Linked DNA regions of Homo sapiens: all the other regions are linked to region 2. Evidence: promoter capture Hi-C in 16 types of primary human blood cells and fetal thymus (Javierre and others, 2016). All regions are on one chromosome and are shown on one strand. Each heading gives the region's core, a stretch centred on a gene start or on the middle of the fragment in contact. The rest is flanking DNA. Distances are from core to core; before and after follow the strand shown.

Region 1 (2,700 bases), core at 183-2,682, 200 kb before region 2:
CAGGAAATCTTCTTGACTCTGTCCTCCACTTCTTCCACTTCTCACTGACTGCAATGCTACTGGCCTAGTGTGAACCATTGTTTTCTTTCAACTAGACTACTACAAGACAAACTGGTTTCCCTGATTCCACTCTTGGATCCTCCCTACTAACAAGGCTACCCTAAAAATAAATCATAGCATCTCACTCCTGTGCTGAAAACCCTCCAATGGCTTCCCATCACTCACTCACAGAGAAAGATCAAGTCCTCATAATGACCTACGAGGCTTTGTACAGCCTGGCTCGTGACCTCCCCACCTTCCTTTCTTATTCTCTCCCCTAGCTCAGTTGATAGAATCCACACTGGACTCTTTGATGCTCCTCAAACACACTCAGCATCCTCCTCCCTCAGGCCTTTGCACAATTTGTTCTCTTAGCGTGAACACTCTTCCCCAGATATCTGCATTGCTAATTCTCTCATCTTCTAAGAGTTTTGTCTCCTCTGCCACCTGTTCAAAGAGACCTACCCGAACCATCTATTCAAATTTTAACCGCTTACCCTTCACGTTTCTGATCTTTTTTCCTCTATTCTATTTTTCCCCCACATTTGTGGTATATTATAAAATTTATTAATTATATTTATTGTATATCTCCTTGAACTAGAATGTAGGCTTCATGAGGACAGGGACTTCACTCTCCAAAACATCCTGAATGCCAAGAATAGAGTCTAGAATAAAATATGTAATCAAGTATTTGATGAAATTATTAATAAGTAGATATGTTAGAAAAATCTCATGGTATTTCATAAAATAATCAGAAAAATCATGTGTGTGTGACAAGAGATCTTAGGAAACATATGGTCCAGCGTTTTTTTTTTTTCTTTTTGTCAACATAACTGTAAGGATTTTTTTTTTCAAGCAAAATCAAAACATATTCTACGTGTGAACGAAATATACATTCTTTCATCCCTCAGGCAGTCGAAGTCTTTGTTGTTCTGCAGAAAAACATTAATTATTATTATTATTGGTTTTGAGATTTTTGTTTGGTTTTTGTTTTTTTGTTTTTCAGAGGCCTTTCTTTGGAGCCCTAAATTTTCTTCAAGGATGGTCTCATTTTACTGAAGAGAAAATTGATGGCCTAAGAGGTTATGTGACTTTCCCAGTGATACATAGCCAGTGACTGACACAGGCACAGATAGCTTGCCCAGTCGCGTCCCAGGGTCCCTCATCTATAGCTTCCTGCAGTTCCTCCCTGCATGTTGACCTAAAAAAGAACTTAGGAGCCAAGACTTAAGAACTCTGCATTTCTGGCTGTTTGAATTCTTTCCTGCTCACTGAGGTTTCTGTTATCTTCTCTCCTAGGCTGACACAGGCAAGAATTTAGTCACGCTCCCCAATACAACTGCCACTGCAATTCTGTGCAGTGACGAGACTATCTGGCTGGAGCCTGAAGTTCTCTTTTCAGGGCCTCGTCAAGGTGAGATGATCTAGAGAAAACTTCACACGGGAGTGAACAAATGTTTCTTTCAAAGAGATTAAGAGTTTTCCTAAGCATGTGCTCTATTTCGTAGCATTTGAGTTTCCTCAAATCAATTACCAGAAGTATTGTGGGAAACCTTACACATATGCGTATGGACTTGGCTTGAATCACTTTGTTCCAGATAGGGTAATTAATCCTTCTTACTAATATTTGAACAGTGCTTTGAGTATATGCTAGTCAAGTAAAGCATATTGACTGATTGCTTGATTGATTTTTCTTTCTCACAAACAGCTCTGTAAGCTGAATGTCAAAACTAAAGAAACTTGGGTTTGGCAAGAGCCTGATTCATACCCATCAGAACCCATCTTTGTTTCTCACCCAGATGCCTTGGAAGAAGATGATGGTAATGAAAGCAATTGTTGTGTCTGAATACTCTTCTTACTGCAGTTCTGTATGTTAGTTCGTTAGGAAAGGAGTAAGGTTGATTATTCCGTAATACTCAAAAACGATCCTTAATACTATAAATAGAGCAGTACTGAAGAATTAAAACTATTTGAAAAGAATTTTCATCTTTTGATCAGGTCTTGTTGATTACCAGTAGAAAAAAATGTCAAAGCACCATTTGGTGTCACGATGGAGCATCAATGTCTGCTCTAGATGAGGGAGAGAAGGAAGAAAAAATGGCAACATGAATTCCAGGTTTTTGCCTTCCCTGACGAAGACATATTTCTAAAAAAATAGCAATTCTAAGAAGGGAAGCTAAGTATTATAGCAGATACAAGAGAATGAGAAGGCAGGTCTGTGAATAGTTTTCATTTGTTCTTTCGGTAAGCTAGGGCTTGAAAAAAGACCCAGAGCCACACCAGCAACTCAGATACAGCAACTCAAATTACAAATCAGCAGTGTTAGTTAACTGCTTCTCAGCTGGGACAGGGAGATAGATTACACTCTATGGGATTAAAATATGGAAAACTAAGAGAAATGAGATAAAGAATTGTGGAGCCATTTCACACTAAATGATTTTATATATCCAGTCGAAGCTGTAAAAGATTTGTTCTCATTTTGTTCGAAGGAAGTCAGCTTCCAGATCGATCTTAGAAACCATACATATGATATATCTTACTGCTTTCAAAGTCTTTTAATACACACTTTTCATGTGATCATCACAGTTTTTACAGTATGTACAGCAGGTGCTATATTTGTATGTTACAGATAAGAACAGATCCATTTATTCAGTGAGTATT
Region 2 (2,700 bases), core at 25-2,524:
TGTGGGTGGTGGTGGTAGAAACTGCACGTTTGGGGAGCAGGGTGGGGTATTTACCAAACCAAGGGTCTATTGAGTAAGGTGAGTTGTACTGGCCAAGCGGCCAGTTTATGAAACATGGAAAAACCAGGCCCAGAAATTTAGGCTTGATAGAGCAGGAAATCTCTATCGGGAGCCCCGCCCCTCTTTTTATGGAAGTTAAGTATAAATATAAATATATGATTTCTCACAAAGAGACAACAAACATTGTAACTTAATATAGGTACCCTCTAAACCAACTAAGATCTCTTTAGACCTTTGAAATACAAACTGTGGGCTTGCTTTCACATTCACTTATTCATTCCACAAAAGATTATGGGGCACCTACTAGAGCTAGCATTTTGTTAGGCACCATGGGGGGTACAAAGAACAAAAAAAACTTGGTCCCTATTCCCCAGGAGTTTACAGCTCAGTGGTGGAGACAAACGTGTACACAAATCCTTACAATAGGAGGTAAAAATGTAAATACAGGATTGTAGGGGCTCAGTTCCCAGAGATACTGCATGGAGGTGGTGTGGAAAATTAGAAAGATTTTTTAACACTAGTTGGTTTTGGATCAGGTTTAACATTGATGGAGTAGAACATGTTCTCTTTAAGGCAATAACCAGGGTTAAGGCTGTGGAAGCACATGTGCTGGAGTAACGAACAGTGGTCTGATTTGGCTGGAGAGCAAGTTTCCTCAAGGGGCGCCGTGGGGAATTTAGCTGGGTATGTGCCCAATAACCGAGGCTGGGAATCTGGTAGAAAGAAGTCGAGCTGAGACTTTATTCCGCATCTCTGTGTTTTGACTTAGGCATCTATTGGGTCCTTTTAAAAAAAATTCTCCTCCTCTTTCCTAAAGAGAGTTCTAGCAGTTGGGGGTGGGGTGGGGACCATTTCCTAAAGTCAACGCGTAAGTTAAAGGTCTGCAAGGCGGTCCACCGGTGATTTAAATCTCGCACTTCGGAAACCAGAAAAGGAAACCTGTGAGAAGCTGGGCAGGGGGAACCCGCTTAACATCAACAGCAACCCCTAAATGGCATCAGACCTTGGAGAGACAGGTTGCAGGCCAGACTCGGGAGCCAGGCGCCAGCACCCGCCAGAGCTCTGAGCCCCGAACTGGTGGGCAAGGGGTAGAGGAAGAGAGGGAGGGAGGGAGGGAGGAAGCGCGAGAGGGAGGGAGGAAGAAAGGGAGGGAGGCGGCGTCATGTGATCCGCTTCCCTGCTCCTTTAAGCGTCCACAGGCGGCGGAGCGGCCACAATCACAGCTCCGGGCATTGGGGGAACCCGAGCCGGCTGCGCCGGGGGAATCCGTGCGGGCGCCTTCCGTCCCGGTCCCATCCTCGCCGCGCTCCAGCACCTCTGAAGTTTTGCAGCGCCCAGAAAGGAGGCGAGGAAGGAGGGAGTGTGTGAGAGGAGGGAGCAAAAAGCTCACCCTAAAACATTTATTTCAAGGAGAAAAGAAAAAGGGGGGGCGCAAAAATGGCTGGGGCAATTATAGAAAACATGAGCACCAAGAAGCTGTGCATTGTTGGTGGGATTCTGCTCGTGTTCCAAATCATCGCCTTTCTGGTGGGAGGCTTGATTGGTAAGTGCGGAGAGCTGCAAACTTTTCCCCCTTTCTGTCTTTTCGGGCCCCTTCCCTCTTTGCCTCTTGGGCTACTTGTTACAGTATCACTGCCTTGCTTCTATGATCTAATTAGTCCGGCTATTGTGCTTAAGAAAGCAGAGCTCCATGGGGCTCCGTGGGGCACAATCCAGTCTAGTGGCTAAGAGAAAAGGAGGGGAAAAAGTTTTGGCCTAGTTTCAGTATCCACTTGAAAGGCAAGAGGGGGGCGGCGGGGGTGGGAATCTTAAGCATGGCGACGGATCGCGCGAGGAAGCGCTGGGTTACAAAGTTGATTGCTCGCCCCCCCCCCCCCCCGCTTTTTCCCGCGTTCCCCCCCTTTTCCTCTCGGTTCCCTTCCAATCAGCTCCGGGAGGGCAACGTAATCGACTTTATTAGGAACAACAGAAGAGTCGGGGAACTGTGCCCGGCGCAAACCCGGAGCTCTGTTACAAGGCTGAGATACTTGCACGGTTGTAAATGCATTTGGTCGTCTTTGCTAGGGGCTGAGGGTTTGCAATTTGGGGTCCCGACCTTCGCGCCCTCTGCTTTCCCGCCGCACTCCACCCCACGCTCTGCCGTGGACAGGTCCGAATTGTCGGCCGGGAGGTTGGGTGGGATGGGGTGGGGTGGGAGGGAGTCCTTGACCAGCGCCGCGGGAAGTTGGAGAGGTCGGAGGGGAAAAGCGTATCCGAAAGGTGTTGCTTTTGGCCTCCTGCCCACTCGTGAATATCCCTTCCCCCACTACTTAGAGCCCCGAGAGCCGGTGACTGTGAATGTCCCCGTCCTCTTTTGGCGCTTAGGAGAGCGCCCTCAGCTCCCACCACAGCCCCCCGCAGGTGACAGCTCGCCGGCCTCCTCGGCGACAGCGCCCGCCCCGGGAGACCTCCCCTGGCGTGCACCTCCCGGACCTCTCTGAGTCAAACAGGCTTCCGGGTGAAGAAAACCGCCTCACGGACCGTCCACTCGGAAAAACTCCCTTCCCCTCACTGTCTCCCCATCTGCATCCATCCTCCCGCCTCTCTGCACACTCGCGCCCCCCGCCCCCTCAAGATTTGGGACATCCCGGCACAAACTTC
Region 3 (2,700 bases), core at 201-2,700, 220 kb before region 2:
CTTTGAGGAGAAGTTTCTTATTTGAAATATTTTGGAAACAGGTCTTTTAATGTGGAAAGATAGATATTAATCTCCTCTTCTATTACTCTCCAAGATCCAACAAAAGTGATTATACCCCCCAAAATATGATGGTAGTATCTTATACTACCATCATTTTATAGGCATAGGGCTCTTAGCTGCAAATAATGGAACTAACTCTAATAAAGCAGAACGCAAATATTGTAAATATTAGAGAGCTAACAATCTCTGGGATGGCTAAAGGATGGAGCTTGGAGGCTACCCAGCCAGTAACAATATTCCGGGCTCCACTGTTGAATGGAGACACTACAACTGCCTTGGATGGGCAGAGATATTATGGATGCTAAGCCCCAGGTGCTACCATTAGGACTTCTACCACTGTCCCTAACGGGTGGAGCCCATCACATGCCTATGCCCTCACTGTAAGGAAATGAAGCTACTGTTGTATATCTTGGGAAGCACTTGGATTAATTGTTATACAGTTTTGTTGAAGAAGACCCCTAGGGTAAGTAGCCATAACTGCACACTAAATTTAAAATTGTTAATGAGTTTCTCAAAAAAAATGTTAAGGTTGTTAGCTGGTATAGTATATATCTTGCCTGTTTTCCAAGGACTTCTTTGGGCAGTACCTTGTCTGTGCTGGCAAGCAACTGAGACTTAATGAAAGAGTATTGGAGATATGAATGAATTGATGCTGTATACTCTCAGAGTGCCAAACATATACCAATGGACAAGAAGGTGAGGCAGAGAGCAGACAGGCATTAGTGACAAGCAAAGATATGCAGAATTTCATTCTCAGCAAATCAAAAGTCCTCAACCTGGTTGGAAGAATATTGGCACTGAATGGTATCAATAAGGTTGCTAGAGAGGGTTAGAGGTGCACAATGTGCTTCCATAACATTTTATACTTCTCCAATCTTAGCACTAATCAAACATGGTTGAATACTTTGTTTACTATAACTCTTACAGAGTTATAAGATCTGTGAAGACAGGGACAGGGACAATACCCATCTCTGTCTGGTTCATAGGTGGTATGTAATAGATATTTTTAAAAATAAGTGAGTTAATGAATGAGGGTGAGAATGAAGGCACAGAGGTATTAGGGGGAGGTGGGCCCCAGAGAATGGTGCCAAGGTCCAGTGGGGTGACTGGGATCAGCTCAGGCCTGACGCTGGCCACTCCCACCTAGCTCCTTTCTTTCTAATCTGTTCTCATTCTCCTTGGGAAGGATTGAGGTCTCTGGAAAACAGCCAAACAACTGTTATGGGAACAGCAAGCCCAAATAAAGCCAAGCATCAGGGGGATCTGAGAGCTGAAAGCAACTTCTGTTCCCCCTCCCTCAGCTGAAGGGGTGGGGAAGGGCTCCCAAAGCCATAACTCCTTTTAAGGGATTTAGAAGGCATAAAAAGGCCCCTGGCTGAGAACTTCCTTCTTCATTCTGCAGTTGGTGCCAGAACTCTGGATCCTGAACTGGAAGAAAATGTCTATCCAGTAAGTATCTCTGGGAGACTTTTTTAAAACACCTTCATGGATTCATGATAAATGTGCTATTTCAAGGGCTCCTGAAGAGAAGGCATTGATTAATGACCTGTTTAGGAAAGACCCTTGAATTTTGGTGGGGAAATTTTTTCCTGCTTATGTATTAAAGCAACTAGCTAGAATTCAGGTCCAAATTATGGGGGGTTTGTGTGACTTAGCCCGGGGTTTGGAAGCAGTCTTGAGTATGGGGATTTCAGACAGACTTGGGCTCCACTCCTTGCCCAGTCATTTCCTAGTGTGTGACTTTGGACAAATTACCTAACTTTTTAAGTCTAGCTTTTCCTGTATATAGAAAGATGTCACAATAGCTTTTACTCCATTATGTTACTGTGAGATTTAAAAGAGATAATACCATGCAAAGTTCTTTTTATGGTATGTAGGACATAGTAATTGTTTAGTAAAAGGTAATTATTATAATTGAGTCTGGTCAGAGATTCCACTCTTTGAAGTTACAACATGAAACTGAACAGAGGATGTAGAAAGTAAACAAAAATATAGAACCTGAATCTCCTGGTCTGACTATGATGAAAAAGTACTGTAGGTCTTGGGGATTGGTAGAGAAATGAGATGATGGGGAAAAAATTATGGTATAATATGAGTGAATAATGAAAGATGAGGTACCTGACCCAAAAAGCTGTCATCTCTCAACCCCTAGGAAGGAGATAAATGGGTCTCTCCTTGAGGCAAGAAAATCAATGATGCTGTGAGCTGAGCATGTTGATAGGGTGGGAGAATACTGTGGGAAGGACCCTGTTTAGGAACAAATTTCAGGAAGTGAACTGATGGCAGTAGGATTGATTGATTTGTCTTCCGAAGTAAGGAAAAACTGCAGAGGACAGGATTAAGTTCACTGTAACCATTGACATTAAAAGAGAGGTCATGTCTCTTGACATCAGAGCAGTGATCTGGGACCCCCTTCCATACCTGAGTAGTCTTCCCCACCCCCAGCCTCACGTGCTCCTCCCGCCCTCACCTTCGCTTCTCCCCCCACCCCCACCCCCACCCAGCTGAGACTAGACCGGCAGGAGTGAACAGGCTTTGAGCCAGCCCTAGAGTGCCTTCTCTCCTGCAGCTCTGCCTCTATCTCTGCGGACTTTGAGCATCAACATGGGCTTCTTCCTTATTCTTCCACCATTTCAGGGT

Evidence for each region. The method cuts DNA at HindIII sites, captures the fragments that hold promoters and counts their contacts. A CHiCAGO score of 5 or more calls a contact.
Region 1: a contact is called between a fragment that was not itself captured here and the fragment with the promoter of WLS in region 2, in 1 of 17 cell types (monocytes). The highest score is 6.1, in monocytes.
Region 3: the fragment with the promoter of RPE65 here is called in contact with the fragment with the promoter of WLS in region 2 in 3 of 17 cell types (monocytes, neutrophils and naive B cells); the score reaches 14.3 in monocytes.

Annotation. Positions count from the first base shown.
Region 1 is chr1:68,430,224-68,432,923 of GRCh38, reverse strand. It overlaps RPE65 (retinoid isomerohydrolase RPE65), which reads left to right. Exons shown (of 14, transcript NM_000329.3): 11 at 1,339-1,453; 12 at 1,548-1,642; 13 at 1,748-1,859. All of the region lies in intron 1 of LOC124904198 (a long non-coding RNA gene), which reads right to left. Among named protein-coding and RNA genes, the nearest start is that of RPE65, 18 kb to the left of the region's middle. The HindIII fragment of the contact is 4,785 bases long and covers 1-2,700 here.
Region 2 is chr1:68,231,097-68,233,796 of GRCh38, reverse strand. WLS (Wnt ligand secretion mediator) reads left to right here and starts at 1,274. Exons shown (of 12, transcript NM_024911.7): 1 at 1,274-1,603. The coding sequence starts at 1,498. The HindIII fragment of the contact is 11,043 bases long and covers 1-2,700 here.
Region 3 is chr1:68,448,704-68,451,403 of GRCh38, reverse strand. It overlaps RPE65 (retinoid isomerohydrolase RPE65), which reads left to right and starts at 1,450. Exons shown (of 14, transcript NM_000329.3): 1 at 1,450-1,509; 2 at 2,698-2,700. The coding sequence starts at 1,499. It overlaps LOC124904198 (a long non-coding RNA gene), which reads right to left. Exons shown (of 2, transcript XR_007066164.1): 2 at 1-2,700. The HindIII fragment of the contact is 10,150 bases long and covers 1-2,700 here.